5 separate regions of the Homo sapiens genome follow, and regions 1, 2, 4 and 5 are each linked to region 3. The links are contacts of gene promoters, found by promoter capture Hi-C in human tissues and cell types (Jung and others, 2019). All regions are on one chromosome and are shown on one strand. Each heading gives the region's core, a stretch centred on a gene start or on the middle of the fragment in contact. The rest is flanking DNA. Distances are from core to core; before and after follow the strand shown.

The links. Contacts are between HindIII fragments. The study calls those that stand out against the background at their distance.
Region 1: a fragment that was not itself captured here is called in contact with the fragment with the promoter of TMEM200C in region 3 in 2 of the 25 tissues and cell types used here (IMR-90 fibroblasts and lymphoblastoid cells).
Region 2: a contact is called between a fragment that was not itself captured here and the fragment with the promoter of TMEM200C in region 3, in 2 of the 25 tissues and cell types used here (IMR-90 fibroblasts and spleen).
Region 4: a contact is called between a fragment that was not itself captured here and the fragment with the promoter of TMEM200C in region 3, in 2 of the 25 tissues and cell types used here (H1 embryonic stem cells and mesendoderm cells).
Region 5: a contact is called between a fragment that was not itself captured here and the fragment with the promoter of TMEM200C in region 3, in 3 of the 25 tissues and cell types used here (bladder, dorsolateral prefrontal cortex and lymphoblastoid cells).

The regions. Positions count from the first base shown.
Region 1 is chr18:6,105,735-6,110,534 of GRCh38, forward strand. All of the region lies in intron 14 of L3MBTL4 (L3MBTL histone methyl-lysine binding protein 4), which reads right to left. Among named protein-coding and RNA genes, the nearest start is that of L3MBTL4-AS1, 150 kb to the right of the region's middle. The HindIII fragment of the contact is 6,013 bases long and covers 1-4,800 here.
Region 2 is chr18:6,085,909-6,090,551 of GRCh38, forward strand. All of the region lies in intron 15 of L3MBTL4 (L3MBTL histone methyl-lysine binding protein 4), which reads right to left. Among named protein-coding and RNA genes, the nearest start is that of L3MBTL4-AS1, 170 kb to the right of the region's middle. The HindIII fragment of the contact is 4,180 bases long and covers 113-4,292 here.
Region 3 is chr18:5,893,085-5,898,320 of GRCh38, forward strand. TMEM200C (transmembrane protein 200C) reads right to left here and starts at 2,438. Exons shown (of 2, transcript NM_001395400.1): 1 at 1,946-2,438. All of the region lies in intron 9 of MIR3976HG (MIR3976 host gene), which reads left to right. LOC121725015 (a long non-coding RNA gene) reads left to right here and starts at 2,643. Exons shown (of 3, transcript NR_172505.1): 1 at 2,643-3,002. The HindIII fragment of the contact is 12,914 bases long and covers 1-5,236 here.
Region 4 is chr18:6,036,043-6,041,021 of GRCh38, forward strand. All of the region lies in intron 16 of L3MBTL4 (L3MBTL histone methyl-lysine binding protein 4), which reads right to left. Among named protein-coding and RNA genes, the nearest start is that of TMEM200C, 140 kb to the left of the region's middle. The HindIII fragment of the contact is 3,462 bases long and covers 1,859-4,979 here.
Region 5 is chr18:6,067,306-6,072,266 of GRCh38, forward strand. All of the region lies in intron 16 of L3MBTL4 (L3MBTL histone methyl-lysine binding protein 4), which reads right to left. Among named protein-coding and RNA genes, the nearest start is that of TMEM200C, 170 kb to the left of the region's middle. The HindIII fragment of the contact is 5,309 bases long and covers 320-4,961 here.

The sequences.
Region 1 (4,800 bases), core at 957-3,456, 210 kb after region 3:
AGTTGCAGTGAGCTAATATAGTGCCATTGCACTCCAGCATGGGCAACAAGAGTGAAACTCTGTCTCAAAAAAAAAAAAAAAAATGAAAAAAGACTCTCAGTCTAACCTAAAATATATGAATAGATATTTTCATTTCTATTAAATTTAGGTAGTAAAATTATAGAAAAATCAAAGAAAGATACCATCAAAACACAACTTGATTAGTCTAATATTAAGAGCAACAACAGGTCATAGTGCCATAGTTTTTACTATACATGATACCCTGAATTAAGTTTCCTTTATATATTAGCTCATGCAATTCTCAAAATACCCCTGTGAAGTAGGGACTGTTATTATCTGCATTTTATGGATGAAGGAACTGGGGTACAGAGGTTAAAGAAGTCATTGTAGGCCAAACAGCTAAGAAGTTATACAGATAGGACTGAATCCCCAGGCAGCTTGATGCCAGGGTCTAGTCTTTTAACTACTCTGCCAAACTGCTTCTGGGGCTAGATTTTTCTCTGAAGACATTACAGAAAATAAAAATTATGAAACACCTGGCACAATGCCTTGTACATACTAGGTACTTTGCCAAATGGATACTGATGATATTAACATATTTATATAACACCCTTGGTATTGGTGGTTGTATATGGAGAAGAATGAGTAGGGAACATAGAATACTTTGAGGGAATTTGAGCTGTTTAGTGTTTTTAAAATTTCATTCCCGAATGTACTGAGTTGCTGCAAGAATAAAACATGGTGAAAAAGGAATTCTTTAGAACAAAGGCACATTCTCTGCATGGGATGAACTGTAATGTGGAGAACTGGCCATCTGGATAATTTCTTATGGGGACAAGCTGTAATTTATAAAACCCTGAGAAAAGAGAAGAAAATAGAGAAGAGAGAGCCTTGACTTTCTGCCAGAAAAAGGCTTTAAAGCTCTATCCTAGCAAGTTTTAAATGGAAATTTAAATATTTCATACCCACATATACACATACTAAAGCTGCACCTACCCAGTCAAATACAACATTTTACCTTACACAGCTTTACAAGCATCCAAATAGTATCCTATTTTGGTTAAAGTCAGGATTAGGAAGCAAAAGCCTCTGCCATTTAAATCCATCCACAAATCTCTGTAGAATGTCCCTGTATGCACAGCCCTGGACTAGGGATGTGGTGCCCCAAATATGGCAAGGGTCCCACCTCAAGGGGCTTTGACCTGGGGACTACAAAAAATGTGAATTACAAACCTGAAAGGCAAATGTAGGCAAATATTGCTGTTTATTATAATTATGTATATGTTTAAAAATGATATATCATAACAATAGGCATATATACTTATTAAGCATTTAATATAAAACCAGGCATTAGAATAGTGCTTATGATTTCATTAATAGTGCACATTATTTCATTAAATAAATATAATATAAAGAAGTTAAGTTTTCATAAAATTGCTCCTGTTGCCGCCCTTGTTGTTTCCTAGTTTGCTGCAGAGGAGGCAGAGGCAGGTTCTTGAAATAGGACTAGCCTCAATCAGTTCAAGAGAGGAGACAGAGCCAATGGGCTGAGGGGTGGGCCTGGGAAGGACCCTTCCTTGTGATGGGGACCAGAGGACAATGTCTGGCTAGGAGCTCAACTGATCACAGATTCAGTTGGCTCTCGAATTGGGAAAGTGTCTAGACAACGGTCTGGAAGATCATCCTCACTGCGCGGGCTGTGAGGAGCAGCCTGAGGGATGGGGACAGGACCTGGACAGCATGCAGGCGGTCTGGGTAAGTGGCTGCAACAGAAGGAGTTGTTGGATCTGAACACACTCTACAAAAATAGTGGTACTTGGAAGCTTAATAAATTTGGGAGTTGTTAAAGAAAACAATGGAATGGAAACTCATGAGTGTGATGATAAAGATGGGAGGGCAGAGATGCTGATGTGGAGCTAAGATAATAAACGTTGTTACTAACATTTTAAGTGACAGGACTGCCATATAATTCTGGATTCATTCTGCAGGTGAGCAGAGGTAGAAAACTCGGACATGAAGATGACTTTTGGGGCACCACCAGCAGATGCCTGTGGCTGAAGCAGAAGATAGATGCATTCTCAAAGTTTCAGCCTGCTCACAGATTGGCCACTGCACATTTCGTGTATCTATTTAATATTGCCTGGAAATCTCCAAAGGTTTTACCGAACACCACTTGTTTACTTTGTACCTTGTTTACTTTGCCCAAGTGACAAGTGAGAAACAGGATTAACCACTTGAGCTCCCCCAAAAATCGCGTGCCATGCCAACAGGAAGGAGCTGGTCTGAAGAGGCTTCCTCCCCCATCTACGTCACTTGCAACACACTCCTGGAGTGGGGTTCTCATCTAATTTGAGCAAGGAGACTCTCAGCCCTTGCTACACTAACTAAAACAGGAGTGTCACGCATGGTCCCTGGTCTCCAACTGCAGTCCAGGTTGTGGATAGTTAATGACAGCCATAAATGGTCGAGCACATATGCCTTAGTCTAAAGATACTTTCAGACATGAACAACATCACTGCAGCCAGGGGAAGACTCCAGGAGGATGTGGGACTTGTGCCTGGCACTGAGGGGAAATAATATTCAAAACAGCAGAAAAAGTTTTCTTTTGTCTTTAAATTCGTCAATTTAAAAAACTGTCTATAAAAAAACAGTTACAATAGAAATTTTCCAGTTGCATGTGTTGTTGGCAAATCTGTGTGGATAAGCTGGTATATTAAGCTCTCTAGATGTGTTAGTTATACAATCTATGAAGACTGGAACTAGGTCCAATTTGCAATAATATATATTATTCAGGACCATGAACTGCTCTCATCATGATTTTATAGAATGGGATTTCACAGCTAGAGTCACTGACTAGGAGTCCATCCATTAAAAAAAAATTAATTGAAACAGTCAATCTCAGGGCATTTCTAGAGCTCAGAAGCACTAGCTCAATGCCTGTCCCATTTCTCCTCCTCTGGGCCTTCTGAGGGCCCCCTCTTTTGCTTTTTGGGGTACATGTGGCTCTCCACATCCTCAGATTCAACCAACCACAGATAAAAAATCTTTGAAAAAGAAACTCAAACAATTAAAAATAACACAAAAAAACAAATATAGTATAACAACTATTTACTTAGCATTTACTTTATAGTAGGTATTACAAGGAATCTAGAGATGATTTAAAGTGTACAGAAGAATATGTATATGTTATAGGCAAATACTACACCACTTTATATAAGGGACTGAGCATCTTCAAATATTGGTATTCTCCAGGGTCCTGGAACCAATGTCCTATGGGTACCAAGGAATGGCTGAATTGAGACTTTCAAGGGACTATGAGTCTATGCAGATGTGTACTTTTAGAGGGAGTTTAAGGTAGGGATGGTCTGGAGGAAGAAAACTAGTGAAGGTACATCAGGATTTCTTTTTGGTTTTATAACATGCAGTCTCTTTCTCAATAGATCACATGATCTTTTCTCTGAAAAATGGCCAATATCTTTTAGATCAATAGTGGACCAATTTTTAACCATGAATTTAGATCAAGACTGGACCACTTTTTAAGAAACGTTTTTCTGTTTCCTTCTGATTTTATTTTTTTATACCATGTGCGCAGGCATTATGTGTGTGCATGTATGTAGACAGATTTAGTCATTGTCATAACCATTGTTATGAGGCTTGCATTTCTCGTTTCTAGGATAATCAACTCCAAGTTCCTGGGCACCAGTGACAGCCCTGTGGGTGACACAGTAGCTGTCCAGGACGTCCCTGCCCCTTTGCTGGCCTGAGCACCCCTCTAATAGGCTACATGCTCTTCTTGGAGGCCCTTTCTGAATGATTCATTAATACCATTCCAGAGCCTGTTTGGGGTCAAAATCCTTGTGAGAATCTGCTGAACATTGTGGAGCCCCTGGCTAAACAAATGCCCACGTGCAAACCTACACAAAACCAGCAGATCTGTCAGTGAGCTCACAGCCCCCTTGGAAGCTGCCCGTGCACCCCAGAAGATGCCAGGAGGCCAGGGAGAGTCTCAACATGCAGAGGATCCCTAACAACTATGGGTCCCCGATCCTCTCTTTATTTAAAAATGAGAGAGATTTTCATTACTTCTTCAAACTTTCATTTGGTCTTTTTCTAATATTTCCTTTTTCCCTTAAATAAAAGAGAAGTGGAAGGTCAGTGCACCCTCCAGGCACTGAGTCATCTGTCAGCCCACGTGCACTGGGGCTGATAGACTCTGGATCTGGACCAGGGCAGGCCGAGGTGGACTCGCACACGGGGTGAAGGAGGAGTGGATGGCATCAGTCTGTAGAGCCAAGGACGTGCCTTAACACAGTTATTTACTAATGGCCCACAGATATGATTTAAAACAACTTTGTGGTGAAGTATAATAACTCAGTCTACATACTCCCTCCCAGGCTGGGAGTGTCTCTGCTTCTAACGGGAAACTCTAATGCCATTTACATCTCAGACCCCTATTGAGTTTCAAAATTTAATCCACTGGTAGTAGAGTGAAAATATGTTGCACTTACCATTATTTTGGAAATGTCATCTGTACATTTATGAGAGTCAGTTTTTACACACACATACACATACCTGGTCTGCTTTTGTATCTCTCTCTCTCGTGTGTGGTGTCTGTATGCGTGTGTGCGTGCATGTCAGTGGACACATGTATGTGTGGGGGCTGCATGTGTGTGTGCATGTGAATATGTGTGTGTATCCACATGTATACATGTGTATGTGGGGGGTTGTATGTGTGGCATGGGTGGGTGGGTGTGTACATGTGGTTGTACACGTGTGCGGGGTGTGTGGCTGTGTGCACAT
Region 2 (4,643 bases), core at 953-3,452, 190 kb after region 3:
GTGGAGAATGAGAAATTCTTAATTTCTTAAAACTTCTACATTACTGGAATTATTAAGGTGGACATTTTCTTATATTTTTCCAAACATCTATATGTTATGCTGTTTGATAGAAAAAGGTGTGGATATTGTTAATGTTTTTAGTTTTTATTTTCTTCTTTCTACTCAACTGTATTTTTTCTTTTCCCATAATAAGCAAGTACTGCTGTAATAATGAGAAAAAGATCATGTTAAAGTCCCACTTTACTCTTTACAATGAGTAAGAAATAATTATTTTCAAACCAGGTTAAGTATACAGATGATAAAATGCTTGCTGGTGCTCAGGCTGCAAGGTTTTATTTTTCTGGGGTGCGGGAACACTAATATTTCCTCTACACAAGTTGCTGTGGACATTGTAGGACACACTGTTCTGTGGCATTTAGTCACTGAAAGCCTGAGCCAAGGCAGGATTCCAGAAATCCAGAGATTAAGAATAAATTTTAAAATTCTTTACGAGAATCAGCTCGGAAAAATATTTTGAAGACATGGCATGGCATCCATGGGTTATTTCATAACGTTTCAGCATAACTGTACATTCATTTAGGAAATACAAGACTCTAGAGACTCCAGTGAGGTGCCTAAAAAGTGAGGCAGGTGGAGACTGGCAAGAGCTGGGCCCTTCCATCTCATCCCAGATCCTCTCCATGCCCCTGAGCTGATCCGGGCACAACTCATTTCGTTTTCCATATGCACAATATTCAACAGAACCTTTTTTCCCTTAGTGGCTGGGCCCTTTATGATAGGTGATTACTGAAAACATTTTGAGCATCACCCTTTCTACTCCGCATTACTTCCCTATGGCACCTGTCAACCAACTGTGATTTTCTCTTCATTTATGGTTTGCTTTCTTTATTCCTCTTCCATCTCCCCTACCTGAAAATTGGCTCCACACAAAGATGGAACTGGTTTGCTCACCTCCACATCCCTAGCACCTAACACACCACTTGGCAACAGCAGCAGCTCCACACATACTTGTGGAGTGAATGAATATCGATGTCATGAGCGAATCAGCATGCCTACTGCCAAGTCTGCACAGACAGGAGCCATCCCACCTAAGTTCAAATCCTTGTCCTGACACTTACTAGTTTGGGTGATTTTCTTATCACCAAGGAAAAGCTTGATAAGAACAAGGATTTTTGTCTGTTTTGTTCCCTGCTCTATCACTAGAGTTTGGAACAGTATTTTCTAAATATTTATTCAACAGACAAAGGTTGAATGAATGAATATGTCTAATTTCGGGACCTGGCTATGGTCACGGTGCTGAATTCAGCAAGATAAGTGTTAGTCAGCTAACTACATACCAAAACCAAATTCCATTCTGACTGCATCTTAATTCTAGGGCAGGTGGTGGTATGGAACAGTGAGGAGAGCAATGAGCTGGGAGTCAGAGGGCTCAAAGGGGCCACCATCAACAGTGCTGATGAAATAGCAAAATTCTTTGGCATTGGTGTCCTTGTCTCCACATTGCAGAAGTTGAATTAATCTCTTGAGTCCTTTCCCTCCGTAGAGCTCCTAGGTTGTCATGCCTGGCTAGTGGCTCCTCAGAGTCTGAGTGGAGGTGGGGAGCTGGAGGGGGGCTGCTCTGAAAGGCCTTGGGATTTCCTGTCCAGCCAAAACCCCCTATAGGGCAAGAAGAACTCTGGTTTGTCATGGTGTTTTGATCACTACTTTCTTGATTAAGGGGCTTAATTTAGTTATAGATACTGAGTATTATCTTAGACCAAATAAATAAAGGTCTAAATTCCTGTGGTTGGTGTTGAGGTGTGTGATATACACACCGCTAGAACTGGTCCAACTGCAAGACTTTAAAATCAATGGTTTTCATAAAAATGGAGAAAAGACATGGAACTATTATTTCAATAGTCTCTTCTATGTGCCAGGCCCATTCATATATCTATAGCAATATCAATGTCTATATCTACCTACATCTATATTCCTATACTCTAAATCTTATATAAGCCTCACATTTATGACCATTTTACAGGTGAAGGAATGGAGACTCTAAGAGAAAAACAGATGTATATGATGAAATCAATCAACTTAGGTACACTAAAGATCTATAATGTGAAACATAAAGAAGAAAAAGCAAAAGCATAAATTGTTTCTTCCCTTTAGCAGCCTATAGTCTTTTTGAGAAGACATGGCATATGCACAACAAACTATTAAAAAGGTACATGCAGACACACAAATAAGCTGCTGATATGTGGTGTGGACCAAAAGGAGAGAGGGATGCTGAGAGCAAGGATAGGACTGGCTCTGAGAAAGGATAGGACTGGCCTTAGCAAGGATAGGACTGGACTGGACTTAGCAAGGATAGGACTGGCCTCTCAGGGCTGGCCACCATCCTTGGCACCTAGTAGGTTGCTCAAAATCTATTTAACTTGTTGAGTGTCTAGTATGTGTCAGGTATTGCAATAAGTGTTAGAAATAGAGAGACACATAAAACACAAACTCCAACTTCAAGAAGCTCTTACAGATTGGAACTGCCACAGAACTCCAAGAGAGAGGTGAGCCGTGGGAAAGGGAGGAGATGCAGGCAGGAGTAAATGAGGTACCAAGAAAGGAAACAAAGGCACAGTGCAGGAATGAAAACAACACTGCAGGCGATGATGGGGAGTGAGTGGGGCCAGTAAGTAGACTCTACCTCCCAAAGCAGAGAATTGAGAGAAAGTGAAATTGAGGAGTGAGAAAGTGAAAGTAAGAAGTGAGAAAAAGGCTGGTGGATTAAAGAACCTATTTACTCACTTGGAAGGTGAATGTGTGGGACAACCAACTAACATTGTTATAATTCTGAGGGTGGAGATCATAGAAGGTACTTATGTTGCAGCCAAAATAAACTAGTTGGCTCATGGCAGTGCAGTTTATCACCAAGATCATTAAGGAACTATTCCACTACATGCCATCCTTTCTGATTACCACAATTTTCCCCAGGCATTTTTATTACTAATATTAGCTTTCAAAAAGTGCGTGAAATTTATAATATGGCAGGCATCAGGAAAAACAAAGTGAGCTTTATTAGGCATTTTCTTAGATTTTCTTAATAGCAATGATAGAATATGACAGGTATTTTAACGAATGGTGGTGCTATCAATTGTGTGAATTAGAATATATTAAACAATGCTTCTGGGAGGCAAAGGAAGTTATTAAAGAACACTTAGGCAGGTAAAAAAATGCCTGAAAAAAAAGTCCCCCTCAGGCCTGGGGAAACCAGCTAATAGACAATATGGGGAGTAGAGGGGAGCTGCATTCCAAAGTAATTTTCTTTATGATGAAAATGTTTTAATGACTCATTATATTCTCTTGTTGCAGGTAGAAGCCTTTAGTATACTATAATAAAACGTGCTCAAGACGGACATTTTGTATTATATATAGTATAAATAAGAAACATCAGTTTGGGGAAAACATGGTAAGATTCTTCCCTTCAGTAGTTCTATTATTATTATTAAACTTTAAGTTCTGGAGTATATGTGCAGAACGTGCAGGTTCTATTTTCACAAAATAAGAAACAGACGCATCATAAGGTGACTCTGAGAATCCTAGACATCAGTAGAAAGTAAGACTAAATATGAACCTAGCTGGGCTTTTTCAAAGCCTTAAGCTGTCATTCTTTCACTAGTCTAACGTAGTTGAATTGCACGTGGGATTTTTTTCTACTTATCATCTGCATGACCTCAGACACTACCTAACCTCTCTGAACTTTTAGATGCCTATGTTATAAAATCTGAATAAGAAAACTTACCACATACAGGGTTGTTGGGAGGATGAAATAAAATTAACACTATGATGTACACAAATTGTTTAGCATAACGCTTTGCAGCCCCAAGTAAGTATGTGCTATTAATAGTAGATAGTTATTATCATTGATATTTCTGGCAATATGATTGCTAATGTACTGTACTGAAAATATGCTGTATTTAATCAGACGACCTATGTTTCAGTCCCAGATAAGCTTACCAGCTTACTATTTCCTCACCTATAAATGGCAATATTATGATGAGAATAATGTCTGCTTTGCCTAAATTACAAAATTATGGGAAGCTCCAAAGGTTATGTATGTGCAAACTATAAATGGTTAAATGGATTAAGGTATTTTCTACTCTACTATATGTACCCAAATGAAAGAAACTCAAGTGTAAGCTATTCACCTCCATTTAATGCACCACGAATGTAATACTACCCACTCTATTAGCACAAATAAAAAAGGAATATATATGGGTTTTCAGTAAATGGTGACTTACTGTGATATTGTGAGTATGACTCTTTACAGTTAATATAACATCTGTATCTTACTGTTATAAAGATAACTCTTGCAAACGTCTAGCAGTACATATATAAATCTCTCAAAATAAAAACATGACTCTCTACTAAAAAATGTGAACATAAATAGACTATTTCTACCACTAAATCATGCAGTGGAGTCATATATTTACTAATTATAACCCTGATACAAAGATTAATATAAGAGCAAACATGTTTTTTAAAAATAATCAAAAAATTGGGTTGCAGTTAAGGAAAAGAAAAAATTATCCAAATTGTTGGGCAATATCTAACCAAATTTGGAAGCTTATCAAAGTTAATTTTATATTTTTCACTTGAATTACAAGAAG
Region 3 (5,236 bases), core at 1,188-3,687:
AGAGAAAGATCTTTTTCTCATATGGGAAAATTACAATTAAAAAAACTAACACTCTGCCATAATAGCTTTCTGACCCCTTATTAAGGTGCCAAGAGCATGCTACAGAGTCCCAGTATTCAAATGAGTAGGCAACTAACTAGGTAAAGCAGTCTACATAATATGATGATTTGTAGAATGACATTTCCCCCAAGCCAAAACTGTTTTGTTTTGTTTTGTTTTTCCCCCTTATCCCTTTCTCATGAGGTCATTTTTAGGAAGGGAGGGTGGCAACAATCAATGGACTACTCTTAGGAAGTTTATTTAGTTGTTTGTAAAAGCCTGGGTAGGAAAATTCACAAATGCATATTTGTAGTTATTCGGCAGCCTCTAAAAATTACAGTCTTGCTGTATCTCCAGAGTAGAACATTTTCTGTCCCATTAGTTGTTTTCCCTCCTATGAGATGCTAAAATCAAGGACATTGTATGAACTGAAAGACTTAGATATCACGCCCAAGCCTTTTGCTCTTCTATCCTTTATCAGATAATTCATGTTTTAGAATAAATTCCCCCTTGAAAATGTGTGGTAGGTAGAATTTTGCTTTTAATTGGTGATTGGGTGAAAGGCTTTGGCCCTTGAGTTCCTCCATTATATCAATATAGGCAGGATCTTTTCTCCATCAGTGGGAATGTAAATGGTAATCAGCTCTTTGCAATATTTGCAAATCAATATCTCTTTGGGACTTAGCTGGGTTTCAGTAAAGAGAAGCACCAGGTAGATAAGAGAGGGGTCAGTATAGAGAATACATCTATAAACCTTTAAGCTGCACCAGTAAGTACAGATTGAAACAAACAAAAAAAAGAGCTTACTGTCTATCTCTAATCCCAAATAAGTAAGCACATTTATTATGTGGTTGTAACATAGAGACTGTTGTTTTAAGTGATCCTTGGAGTCCAGCATCTTAAATAATCTGGAGATCCGTGGTTATCTTAAGAAGGCTTTAAGGACCAGACATTTTTTAGAAGCGAACTCAGACTCAGTTGGCAGGGTGGCTCTCCCACCGCAGAAAGGCTACATGTTTTGTTGGGCATTGATCAGGTGCGCCGGGAGGCTGGATGCCTTGGGGGAGGAGGAAACCCACTTGGATTTCTCCTCAGCAAGGCAGCTTTGGCTCCGGTAGAATGTAAGGAAGGTTGGAATGGATTTCAACAGTCCTTTACCGCACATCTTTAAAATGAGTTTAATAGCTAGTAATTAACTCCCTCGTTTATTATTCCTTCAGCTCTGTTGAAGGCTGTACTCCCTTTTAATGTATCATCATCTGACACGAAATACAGACAAAGGTCAGATGCCACGGGAGACCCACCTTTGAGGTTTTCCTTTATACCTAATGAAAGAAAACAAACTTAGCAGTCAAGCTTGGCTGCCCTCGCAATTTACTGCCTGGAGCTGGTCTTACCGTGGTTAAAGAATGGAGGATGGGGGAAGCAAAGGAGGGATGTCTAAAAATACAACTGCTTCCAAGAGAGACATTCAAGTTCTCCGCTCAAGATGGATTAAGCCCCACTCTGAGGCTCGGAGGCTCGGATCCCACAGGCTGGGAGCGCTGTGCTGTGCCCGGTACCCAACCCAGGTCCTCGACCCCGGCCCCTCACTGGCAGGGCGGCGACCCCCTGGCCCCTGGCTTTGGTCTGCTTATTGATGTTAGCTGGAGTCACATGAGTGCAGCAGCTGGGAGTCCGCCTCTGGAAAGAAGACAGGCAGGAGCCAAGTGAGGGCAATCCTGAACTAGCTTTTTCTGGGCAGCGCATCCCGTGTAGCCAGCCCGGGAAAAAGCCTCTCACCGAACACCAGCCCGGGGCGCGGGGACTCGGGGACCCGAGGGGCGGGGAGGGGCCCCCAAGGGCTGGGGACTGGCAGAATTGCTCAAAATGGCAGCACTCTCCGCACGCAAGATCGCTCACTTACCCAGGGAGACCGAGGGAGGTCGGGGCCGGCGAACGGGCGCTCGGGCGACACAAAGGAACCATGGAGAAACTTTTTCAGCCCGAGCCGACGGCGGAGCGCAGGGACAGCGCCCCGGGGCCCCGCATCCGAGCGCGACTCAGCAGCCCCGCGGGGGCGAGCGCCCGCCCCAGGCTCGCAGTCCCCGCCGGCGCTGTGGCGGGAGCCATTTCCAAGAGTTTCCAAGAAGTGTCAGGTCCTCCGCATCCCGCATCCCGCATCCCGCCTCGGAGCCCTCCTCTCCGCCGCTCATCCTCCAGCTCCCGGCGTCCCCTAGCGCGGCGCTCCCGGGCGGGCCCCTGCGGCCGCGCCGCCGGCCCTCGCGCCTCTTTTGTGTGGCTGCGGCGCGCCGGGCTCCGCCGGGTGGAGTTGAGCCCGCGGCGGCGGCTCGGGGCGGCCGGACTGGCGGCTGTTGCTAAGAGACCGGAGCCATGACACAGGGAAATTGCGGCAGGGTGGCGGTCGGGGCCCGCCCGGCTCGGCGGAGTCGGGGGGCGCCCCCGCCCCCGCCCCCCGCCCCACCCCCTCCTCCGGCGCCCCCCCCCACGCCGCCGGCCTTCCCCGCTCCCCCGCGTCCTCCGCCGCCCGCCGCCCGTCCCTTCGGAAGCGCCGATTCCTCGGGGAGGAGGAGGCGTGAGGGGAGGCGGCGGAGGCAGCCGGCACGGGGCGCTCGGGCCGCGGGGCAGGGGGCGCGGGGTGCCTCCTCGGCCTCGGCTCTCCCCGCCCCGGGGCGCCCCGAGACCGCCGCCTGCCTCCGCGGGCAGCTTTGTTCTTCTTTCCTCCAACTACCTGTCTGAGCCGCGGGCCCCAGAGGCCCCAAAGAGAGGCCCGGAGGGTCTCCCCAGCAGCATCCGAGGGGCGCTCTCGGGGAGCTAGGGGCCAGAGTCCGCGGTCCCTCCGTGCCTGCCTCCCTCCCCTCGTGCCTCGGTCTTTTGTTGCCTCTACTCCTCGGCACGGCGCAGCCTGGGCTCTCTTCCCCCTCCCGCTTGGGAGTTTGCAGTGTGGACGCTCGGCAAGCACAGTAAGTTGTCCCCCAGCGAACTCGGGCCCGGGCGGAGTGGAGCCGCCCCCGCCGGGACGGGCGCACCGCGGGACGCTTGGAAGCCTCTGCCAGATGCGCTCGCGCTCCAGCCCCGCCGGGCTTTGTGACCAGCCTGACCGGGACCCGGCAGCTGGGGCTCCTCGGAGATCAGAATGGGCTCCGGGGCTCTTCCTTGGGCAGCCCCTCCTGCTCCTCCCCGGTGCGGTAATCAGCAAGCATTAAAAGGAAAACTATAATTCTCCAGGAATCAGGAATCAGGGTTGGAATCAGAGAGGGGAGGTGGGGGTAGGGAGGATGTCCAAACTCCCTACGTCATTTAAAAAAGAGAGAAGGCGAGAGAGAGAGAGAAAGAGATCGAGATCCTGTTTCCTAGTTCATCCCTGTCTTCTCAACTGTAAAGTAAAAATGACAGGGAAAAGAGAATTTCAAAGTGGAATTTCCCCAAAGAGTATTGAGAAAGTGAGAAAGATTTCATTTATCTATTGAAATGAGGCAGCCAGGATTCAGGAAGAAAGGAACAGAAGAGCAGATGAAGCAAGTGCTGTCTGAAATTTTGGATCCAGATAAATATTTTGGTGGTGGTGGGTGTTATATATTCTGAGTTTTGCTGCTTAGGGGTCCACAAAACCCACACAGGAGGGCTCTGCTGCCCGCAGCTCCTGTTACAAGATTGTTCCCCACATACACAGCATTCACTTGTGCTTAAATCTAGAGCAGACACTTTTCAAAAAGAACAATAAAGACAACCAATTTACAAGTTCAATGATATAAATGTGAACAGTGATCTAAGAGATGGGGATAGAGACGGTGGGGGACAGGAGGGAACGAAGCAGAAGTGTTTTCTAAAAGGCAACCCTGCATTCACCTGTTGGAAAGGTGGCCTCTGTCACCCTTTTCAAGCAAATAACGAATCTGAATGATGATCAGGGTGTCCGGAACCCACCGCCTTCCCCCTACCTATTCATGCTCAGATTCAGGCTATTAGAAAACAAACCATAATGAAGGGAAAGTTTTAAATCCCACATTGGGTTGTTTCCTTTTAGAGAAATCACTGCAAAGGAAAAATAATAAGATCTAGTTGTCGTTTTCTAAAGCCTTTTTGGCTCTGAACTTCCAGATCTCCTGAATCCCAATAATAATCTGGTATTTTTTACAAAGATTGGGCCTACAGTCTCATTTCATTGCACAGCTAGCTGCCAGAGTCTATGGGCGGCAGTTCCTGTGCTCTGTTTGCTGGGCTGTACAAACAGGAATAATACTGCAGAACTTCATTAGGATTTTAGGTGGATTAAACTGCTAATAGTTTCAAGTTTCTGTGTAAATTATAGCCATCATTTGCACATTTAAAACTCATTTGAGGGATTTGGAGAAGAAAAGAATTCTTTTCTAGACAAAGGGCCTTGGGACATAGCTAGTTTTGTCTTATGTTGATGATTGCAACAAAATTTATGGCTTATTACTCAAAGGCTTCCTTCCAAACTGCGCTTTTTGGAACTTTGAACTGTTTAACCTGAATGTTATCACGTTCAGTAGTTTTCTTTGTTTTCAGCTCATGGTATCAGAGGAAATCAAGCAGATCACATCTGTTTCCAGCGGAGTCCGTTATCCCCTCTGTAATACAGAATCAACATACATTCCCAGGGGCTTTCAAGTTATTAGAGTTATTTTTAAAGGAACAAGGATACTCTTGGCCCTTCTGGCGTTATTTTCCTTCTAATCTCCCTGGCCATTTCAGTTTGGATGATTTCCGAGACTGTGGGACCCCACTTTCACCGTGCTAAGGACTGAAAGGCTACAACTACCTAGTCTTAATAATTCACTAGTGTCTCCAGATTTTGGAGCTCAGCACAGCCTTCTGACCTTGTAGCAGGGAACATAATGAAGGCCCTGGGAAAGTAAGAGAAGAGGATGAAGATTAGCTTAGTTTAGTTGGATTAAATTCTGACCTGCAACCTTTCATTTGCTCTATCTTAAAAAAAAATCCTTATATAATTTATTCAGTCTCATAATTTATTCACAACTCATTTACTTCCTGGATCATTTCACCAACCTAGCCTGGTGTGCTTGACTCGCCTGCCTGTGCTCCCAGGGCTGCGTAGGGGAAGACAGCGTCATGGGCACACACAGGACCTTCTTGGTCTCCAGGAGTGTGCCAGAGAAGGGAAGTCTGCTTATACCAACAGCTCAGCACCTCCTGCCTCTGCACACACCTT
Region 4 (4,979 bases), core at 2,340-4,839, 140 kb after region 3:
CCAAGGTTTCTGACGAGAAATTTGAGGATAAGCTTAAGGATCCCTTGTATGTGATGCCTCTTTCTTGCTGCTTTCAACATTCTCTGTCTTTTGAAAGTACGATTAGTGTTTCGGTTTGGATCTTTGAGTTTCTCTTAGAGTTCATTGAGCTTCTTGGATGTTTATATTCATGTCTTCTACTAATTTTGGAAATTCTCAGCAATTATTTCTTTAAACATTCTCTATACCCCTTTCTCTCTTTCATCCTCTGAAATTCTCACAATGCATAAGCTGAATCTCAGACTCAATAATTTCTACTATCCTAACTTCAAGTTTGCTGATTCTGTTTTTTTTTCCTGCTCAAATCTCCCTTTGAAGCCCTCTAGTAAAATTTTCACTTCAGCTATTGTGCTTTTCAGCTTCAAAATTTCTTTTTGGTTTCTTTTTAGGTTTTCTATTTCTCTATTGATATTTCCATTTTGTTAATACATTGTTCTCTTGAGTTTCTCTACATCTTCCCCTACTTTGAACATCTTGAAGACAGTTGCTTTAAAGTCTTTGGTGGAAATCTCATCAGGCTCTTTTTCAGGCACATTTTCTTATTGACTTATTTTTATTCATTTGAATGAGCCAAACTTTCCTGTTTCTTGTAAGTTTTGTGATTACTTATTGAAAACTGAGCATTTAAATCTAAAATGTGGTGACTCTGGAAATCAGATTCTTTCCCCAGAGTTTGCTAATTTTTTATATTTAAAATTGTTGTTGTTTGATTGTTGTAGGCTGTCTCTGTGCCAAGGATTAGCCTGAGGTATAAACATAAGGTCTCCTTAGGTCTTTCCTGGGCCTGTACCTTTCCCGGGCCATACATAGTCATTTTCTAACTTCTCCATACACATGGTTGCTTTTGGATGTTTTAGTCTTTAATGTCTGGTCCCAAAAGAAGAAAAGAGAAAAATGACGGGAAGGGGGTAAAAAATAAAAGTGCACTGGCTTTTTATATTCCCTGAGTCACTTCAGTTGGTGGGGCTTGCAACAATGCGGGGAGATGTGACAACAATGCTCACCACCTCTTTGCACTTCTGTGATCGGAAGCAGCAATCAGCAGTCAGAGCACAGATCCCTGACCTTTGGAAGACAAGACCCTTTTTGCCCACCCTTGCTCCCACGAGCAGTGTGTAAGCTGCTCCAGGAACGCATGCATACCTGCCTGCCACAGGGGTGGGAGTGTGAAATGGGTAACTACTACTGTGCTAAGATAAGAGGTGGAACGACTGAACGTAACTGCAGTTTACCATGTTAACCACTATTTATTGTCCAAGCAAGCCTTTCTCTGGAAGTTGCAAGGCTTTGATAGACTCCAAGACTCTGGAGTTCCAAAACAATTGCATCAGACAGATTCTGCCAGTGCAGTTATTGTCTACAAAGGGAGGATTCCTAGTGATTCCTACTCCAGTATCTTCCAGAATCTTCTCCCAAGAAGCATCTCATTCTTGCAGTGGAGAAATTCATTAAAAAAGGCCACCACGCTCTACATGGAAATTTGTGCAGGGCACTTCCCTTGGAAGTATAATGCAAGACTAGAAACTTGATTTCTGTAAATCTCGGGTTAAATTAGCTTCACATCTACTAACAGGTGAAGTATTCTGCTTGCAGTATGCAAACAGATAACTGGTAGAACACAAATGTGTAACTATAGCCAACATAACTGCAACCAACTGTAGCCTCTGTTAACACAGGCTTAAAGGATTGTGGTTTAGAAAATTTTACTCTGTCCTTCTGCATAATGACATTTGAAATCATATAGGAGAGGCTTAATAATAAATATTAGGGAATATTTAGATGTTTGGCTAATGTATTAAAGTGCTGGTTGCTCTGAACAGGGAAATAAAAGGAGGAGTAGGCTCCTGATGAGTAATTGGCACTGGGAAGAAAGAAGTTGATAGGATAACTTGGAGAGAGGATAACGGGGTGAAATAACTCTTGCACCCACAGACAGGAGAATACGTACTTTGGAACAGGTTAAGATAAGTGGATAAAAAAGGAGTGGGAAGTATCTGTGTAATGTTCTAGTTCAATGACAGAGAGAGAAGGGCAGGGATACTGATTGAATATTTATGTCACAATGAGATTTAATCAATATTGATGCAGATAAAATAACTTACTTAGACATATTTTTAACAGAGATACCAGAAAAAAATTCTAGAGGATACTAGAAATCCATTTCTGGATCTTTTTTTTTTTTTTTTTTTTGAGACAGAGTCTTGCTCTGTCGCCCAAGCTGGAGTGCAGTGATGCAATCTCGGCTCACTGCAAGCTCCGCCTCTCGGGTTCACGCCATTCTCCTGCCTCAGCCTCCGGAGTAGTTGGGACTATAGGCGTCCGCCACCGCGACCGGTTAACTTTTTTGTATTTTTAGTAGAGACGGGGTTTCACTGTGTTAGCCAGGATGGTCTCGATCTCCTGACCTCATGATCCTCCTGCCTCGGCCTCCCAAAGTGCTGGGATTACAGGCATAAGCCACTGCACCTGGCCTCTGGATCATTTTTTGACTGGTAACCTGACTTGGTGATCCTAGTAAAAGACAGCAACATTGATGGGGGAGAGCGGCACTTCTGTTAAGAAGTATAGTGCAGCAATGTGAGGAGGCATCTAAGAGAAATAAAAAACAACAACAACAAAAATGCCTACATTCCACTGAACTACAAATATTATTCAAGAGAAAACTTGACAGTCTTTGCCTCATAAATAATTAGCAATTTTGTCACCCATTTTTGCATGTTATCATTAATTAGGTATTGTGGATTGAATGTCTGTGTTCCCCCAAAATTCATATGGTGAAATCTTAACCCCCTACGGTTTTTGGAGATGAGGATTTGGGAAGGAAATTAGGGGTTATATGGGGTCATAAGGGTGGATCCCTCATGATGGGATTAGTGCCCTATAAGAAAAGACACCAGAGAGCACCTACTCTCTCTCTTTCTTTCTCTCTCCCCCAACCTCCCTTCCTCCCTCTTCCCCAACCCTCTCTCCCCCAGCCCCATGCATACACATACAAAGAAGAGGTCACAGGAGCACACAGACAGATGGTAGTAGTCTACAAGCCAAGAGAAGAGGCCCCAGAATCAAACCTACCCTCCCCAAACTGTGATCTTGACCTTCTAGCCTCCACAACTGTGAAAAGTAAATTTCTGTTGATAAAGCCACCCAGACTGTGGTATTCTGTCTTGGCAGCCTGAGCTGACTAATACAGTTGCTATCTAGGATTGCCTGTGATTAAAACACTGAAGGAAAAATAAGAAAATTTTCTCTGCTTTTAAAAAGAAAATACGCTGCTCCACCCACATTTTAATGCTAGAGTCGGCTCTTTATCTTCCCACATATTCTCTAAGGACTATTCACCCCAATCCCTTTCTGAATGTCTGTGCTAAAGAAAAGAGCCTTCACTTTTTGAGTTTCCCCCAATTTAAACCAATGCAAATGAAAGGGTAAGGAAAGAGTGCCCTAGATCCTTTCTTTTGGATATTTCTCTTATTTGGAGTTGTGCAGATTCTCTTAGTTGACTGATATTTTAAAAATTAAGTATGCCAGTGGATTTATGCACACACATACACGCATACCCTCTTCCATCCTGTTTCCTGGGCCCTAAGCCTCTCACAGTGACACTTGACCAGCGTGGTTATCTCAAAGTCCCTTCATGCTGGGTAAGCTTCCGCCTTTCTAGAAAAGGGTCAAGTGTCTTTGAAACTAAACTCCAGTGCCTGGCTAACCAATGACTTTGTACCAATATCTAGAACTAGAATTAATAGTTGATTATGATACTGCTGATTGAAATAAATAAGTAAAAGTATCTGAAAAATTAGACGATGAAACAAAACTTACAATAATAAAAATAACACAATGTTCATTAGCTTAAGTAATATGATTATCGAGAATGTCAGGATAGCAGGAAAAATTATGTATTTTCAAAAACTCGTTTTCAAATATTAAACTTTTTTCATTCTCTCCCTTTCAACTTATAAGAGTAATGCATGTACAGTAGGAAACATGAGAAATTTCAAAAGGCCAGAAGAATATAGAAAGAAATTAAAAATACTTGGAATCTTACTTCTCAGAAATATACCCTGCAAGGTATTTTGAATTGTAGTTCATTTTTTTTTCCTGTGCAAATAAATAAATAAACTTTTAAAAATTCAACACAAGAGATCACATTAAAGATTTCCTCTAAACCAGTGGTCTTTCAACCAGAAGCAATTTTGTCCCCTTCATCCTGGAGATATTCAGCAATATCCAGAAGCACTTTTGGTTGTCACATCTTGGGGTGGGAGGGTTGCCTCTGGCATCTAGCGGGTAGAAACCAGGGATGCTGCTATATATCCTGTTCCAATAATTAAGAATTATCTGACCCAAAATGTCTATAGCATTGAGATAGAGATATCCTGCACCAATCCATTACAGAACCAAAAACTTTACTAATTACAGTCTACTCCATACTGCAAACAATTACTGAGTACCTGCCGTGGGTCTGTATATACAAAGATAAATATAATTCAGTCCCATCTCTGTTGAGTGTGGGTGATAGACAAGTACATAAACCTAAATGAGTAAACTTTTTACTCACATCTCTTTTGAGACAAGGAGTCCTTTGAGTGGCTTAAGTCACTCAGTGCTTGAAACCTTCATTTCAAGGTTTATGAAAAGAACCTACATTAGTCCTAGTCTGAGAAAGAGAGACACCTGAAGGTGGCAAGCCCCTAAACCATCCTATTCTTGGCTCCACTCGACCCTTATCCTGCCATTCCCATGGCTGGCCTTCTGCTCTCCACTCTCAGTTGTAGGGTCACAGGGGAGGAGATTAAGTCAACATAATAATATATTTACAAATCACATAATTTCTATAAAATTTGAGTTGTTTTTTGCCTTGATTCCTAGAATTTAAAAAAGTAAAACAAGAACAACAGCAAAACTTGTGATCTGTTCAGAAAATGTGTCACAACAAAGAA
Region 5 (4,961 bases), core at 1,724-4,223, 170 kb after region 3:
AGGAGTTCCTTGAGTTTTCTGTATTTGGATATATAGAGCTCTACCAAGGCCAAGGAAGTTTTCCTCAATTATTCCCTCAAATAAGTTGTCTAAACATTTAGACTTCTCTTTTCCCTCAGGAACACCAATTATTCTTAGATTTGGCCATTTTACATGATCCCATATTTCTTGTACACTTTATTCATTTCTTGAGATTCTTTTTTCTTCATCTTTGACTGGGTTAATTCTAGAGCCTGATCTTTGAGCTCCAAGATTCTTTCTAGTCTATTGAAGAAACTTTTCCACTGTATTTTGCATTTCCCTAAGTGTGACTTTCATTTCCAGAAGTTCTGACTGGTTTTACTTCATGACATCAATCTCTCTGGAAAATTTTCATTCATATCCTAAATTTAAAAAAAAAATTTCTTTATGTTGTTTTTTACCTTTCTCTAGTATCTCCTTGAGTAATTTAATAAGCAACCTTCTGAATTCTTTATCTGGTATTTCAAAGATTTAATCTTGGTTTGGATCCATTGCTGAAAGCTAGTGTGATTTCTTGCGGATGCTGTAGAACCCCATTTTGTCATATTACCAGAATTACTTTTCTGGTTTCTTCTTATTTTGGGTGGACCATTTCTTCAAATTGTTCTTAAATTTATTTTTGATTTGACTGTGTTTTTTTCTTTAATTTCTTCTTTTCCCTCTTAAGGATCTGACTTTAATGTTTATCATTTATTATAGCCTAATTTGATTCTTAATGCTTTTAGTGGGGAAGACTCTGTAGGAGTTCCTTAAAGAGAGTTTTTGTGCGCTGGCTTTCCCAGACGCTGGTTGCAGTAACCATGCATTTGGCCTGTGGGTAAGTTCACTGTCTCCTGTAGGGTTGGAATGGCTAGGATCTCTTGAAGCTTATCTCATTCTCCCATGGTGTACACCTTTTTATTTATTTAATTTTTTCCCAGTATTTTATTTACTAAGCTGATGATTCAGCCTTCAGGCCAATAGGAGAGGTATCCCTGGGGTAGGTATTGGTGGTAGCTAAAGAGATGCATAGATATATCTAATGGTGGGCAGAGGTCCCAGCCTTGATGAAGGTGCCTGGGGGAGCTCTAAATTAAATGTGCTGAGGTTTTATCAGAGTGAAGGGTGGAAGCCACCTCAGCTCCCCTGCCAGGCAAGCAGGAAAGCTATCCACCTTCCTGTCCCAGTATTCCAGCTATTCAGATCAGACAGGTAACTCTTTGCATCTGTAGGAATGTTGATGTTCCAAGTAGAGAGGAGTTGTGACTCTGCAAGCCTGAATTTGAGAAGTGCTCCTCCTGTGGGGATGCAATCACCCTAAATTGTTCCTGGAAGGCCATCTATATGTGCATCTACACTGCATTCCTCTGGGAGAAGCCCCAGCTGTGTGTGCAGTGGTGTACCAGTGGGAAAAGGACCCCCTTTCCAAGCCCCTTTATGATCAGAGATGCTGCCTGATTGTTGGGGTAGAGGTGTAGACTTTCTTTACTGCACCCAGCACTGCAATTGTGTCTCTGCTATAAGAAACGTCCCACTAGTGGAAAGATCTGGGACTCAAGGCCTGCCATTCAGATTCTTTTTCCCATGGGATGTTCCCTTGATGTGATGCTCTCCCCCTTCCCCTAGGAATGAGACTTCCTGAGACCCAGACCACAGTGATTGTTAGTGCTCTTCTGGGTCTAGATACCCAGTGGGACTACCACACTTTGAGCTGATGCTGGGGAATGTCTGCAAGGGATCCAGAAATGTGAACTAATTTCAAGTCTCCCAGCAGTGTACACCAGCACCATCTTTGATGGAGATGGCAGGGCAGTTACATACACTCTGTGAGATTTCTTGGTTGGAGATAAGGCTTAGTGTGCTGGATTTCTCAAATGAGAGTTACAATTGCAGTGAACTTGCCACATGGACAGGCTCAGGACCTCTGGTTAGTCAGGGTGTTGTACGCAGTGGTGATATCTGAGGTCACATAGTCATTTTCTCCTTCCTGGGCGCATTCTACCTAGAGGTGCTTAATGGACTGTGTTGGATGGCCTCCAGCCACGAGGTGGCATTTGCAAAAGAGCAACCAGCTGCAGTAGTAGCAGTGGGATTTAAGCTTGCCATAAGTTGCTGCAGGAAAGTGTTGTTTTTTTTTTTCCTCAGGTGACAGGCAGGGCTATAAAGTTCCCCAAAGTTTATGTCCTTTGTGTTAAGCTACCAGGGTGGGTGAAGGGGCACAACCAAGTGAGGGCAGGGTTAGGCGGGTCTGTGCTCTGACTCTTCTTGAGCTGGGCTAGCTGCGGCCACTGTGAGGATTGGGAGGTGGTTCTCAGGCCACTGGGCTAATGTTCCAGAAGGGAGTATAACTGCCTCTTCTGCACAGAAGAGTTCACAAAGGTAGTGGGGAGGAGCAGGCAGCAGTAAGCCTCACCCAGCTCCCATGCAGTTGGCGAGGCTGATATCACTCACTCAGTGCTCCAATAACAAAGGCAAAAGATGACTCAGATAAATAACGGTGACTAATGTGTTTACAAAATTAGATGGCAAGATAGAGAATTTTACTCAAGAACTAAGGTCTATTAAAATCATACATAGGTAAATTGCTAAACTAAGAAATAAACAATAATTTAATTAAAAATTAATTACATGAGTGTAATAGCAGTTTGGAGACAGCTGAAGAGAGAATCACTGATCTTGAAAATAGGCCACTAGAAAAATATCCAGGCTGAAGCATGTACTAAAAACGGAGGGGAAATAATGAAAAGAGCTCTTAAGACATAACTAAGAAAGTCTAATATATTCGCAGATGGAGTCTCAATAGGGGAAATGAGAGAGAATGGAGCATAAACAATATTTGAGGAGATAATGGTCAAATTTTTCAAAGTGGTAAAAAGCCATACACCCACAGATTTAAGCACTATGAATCCTAAAGAGACAAATATAAGGCACTTCATAGTAAAACTGCTAAAAATGAAAGACAACAGAAAAATCTTATAAGTAATCAGATAAAATGTGACACACTCCAAGACATACTCCTTTCAAACAGACACAATAAAGCTACAGCTGACTTCTTGAGAGAAACAATAGAAGTCAGAAGCCAACGGATTACCATATTTAAAGCCTGAAAAAAAATTAACTGCCAATCTAGAATTCTATAACCTGTAAAAATATTCTTCAAAAGTTTGGGTGAAAAAAGGATATTTCTGGACAAAGAAAAACTTACTCAAAAAAAAAAAAAAAATCAGCTAGGCCAAGCGCAGTGGCTCATGTGTGTAATCCCACACTTTGGGAGGTCAAAGTGGGCAGATTGTTTGAACCCAGGAGTTTGAGAAAAGCCTGAGCAACATAGTGAGATCCCATCTTTACAAAAAACAAAAAACAAAAAACAAAAAAAACAAAAATTAGCCGGGCATGGTGGCACACACCTGTAGGCCCAGCTACTCCAGAGGCTGAGGTGGGAGGATCACTTGAGCCCCGCAGGTTGAGGCTGCATTGAGCTGTGATCGCACCACTGCACTCCAGCCTGGGTGACAGAGTGAAACCCTGTCTAAAAAAATAATAATAACTAGAAGACACTATGAATGAAGTACAAAAGATAATTTTTCAGATAGAGGAAAAATGATTCTATATAAAGATAAAGATGCATTTTGTAGTAGCTGGGATATCTACTAACAGAATATTAAAAATAAATAAACAACAAGCTAATAGAGGGAGAATGGTATACTCACATGAATTTTGGTTTAAAAAGATACAGCAAAAATATAAAATTGAATACAAACTACTGAGAAAAATAGAAAACAATTATAGAGATGGTAGCAATAGGCTGGACACAGTGGCTTATACCTGTTATCCCAGCACTTTGGGAGGCCAAGGTGGGGAGATCACTTGAGGCTAGGAGTTTGAGACCAGCCTGGCCAACATGGTGAAACCCTGTCTCTACTAAAAACACAAAAATTAGCTGGGCATGGTGGTACACATCTGTAATCCCAGCTACTTGTGAGGCTGAGGCATCAGAATCACTTGAACCCAGGAGGTGGAGGTTGCAGGAAGCCAGGATTACACCACTGCACTTCAGCTGGGAGACAGAGTGAGACTCTTTCAATTAAAAAAAAAAAAAAAAAGATAGTAGCCCTAAGTCCAACTTAACACTAATAACATTAGATAGAAATGTATTAAATCCTTCAATTAAGAGACTCCTGTTGACTGGGTGCAGTGACTCACACCTGTAATCCCAGCACTTTGAGAGGCTGAGGTAAGAGGATTGCTTGAGTCTGGGAGGCCAAGGTTGCAGTAAGCCATAATCACGCCACTGCTCTCCAGTCTGGGGTGACAGAGATAGATCCCATAAAAAAGAAAGAAAGAAAAAGAAGAAAGAAAGAAGGAAAAAAAGAAAGAGAGAAAGAAAGAAAGAAAGAAAGAAAGAAAGAAGGAAAGAAAGAAGGAAAGAAAGAAGGAAGGAAAGAAAGAAAGAAAAAAAGAAAGAAAGAAAGAAAGAAAGAAAGAAAGAAAGAAAGAAAAAGAAAGAAAGGAAAGAAAGAAAGAAAGAAAGAGAAAGAGAGAGAGGGAGGGAGGGAGGAAGGAAGAAAGGAAGGAAGGAAGAAAGATTGTTATTAGATTGGATTTACACATAAAAATCACACGCCACTTGGAAGTGTCACATTAAATATAAGGACAATGATGGAGCATATAAAAGGACGGAAATAAATATAACAAACAAATACTAATCAAAATAATACTGCTAATATCAGACAAAGGAAACAAAGGTAAGAAGCAATTGGAGAAATAAAATACATATTTCAAAATGTTGAAGGGTCAATTGATTACTAATATTCTAATGTTCTAATTTTCATGAGCCTAGTAATATAGCCTAAAAATGTGTATAATAAAAGGAAAACCAGGTAATATCACAACCATAGTAGAGGACTTTAACACATTTTTTCAGGAATCAAATGAATAAGCAGGAAGAAATGTATCAGTAA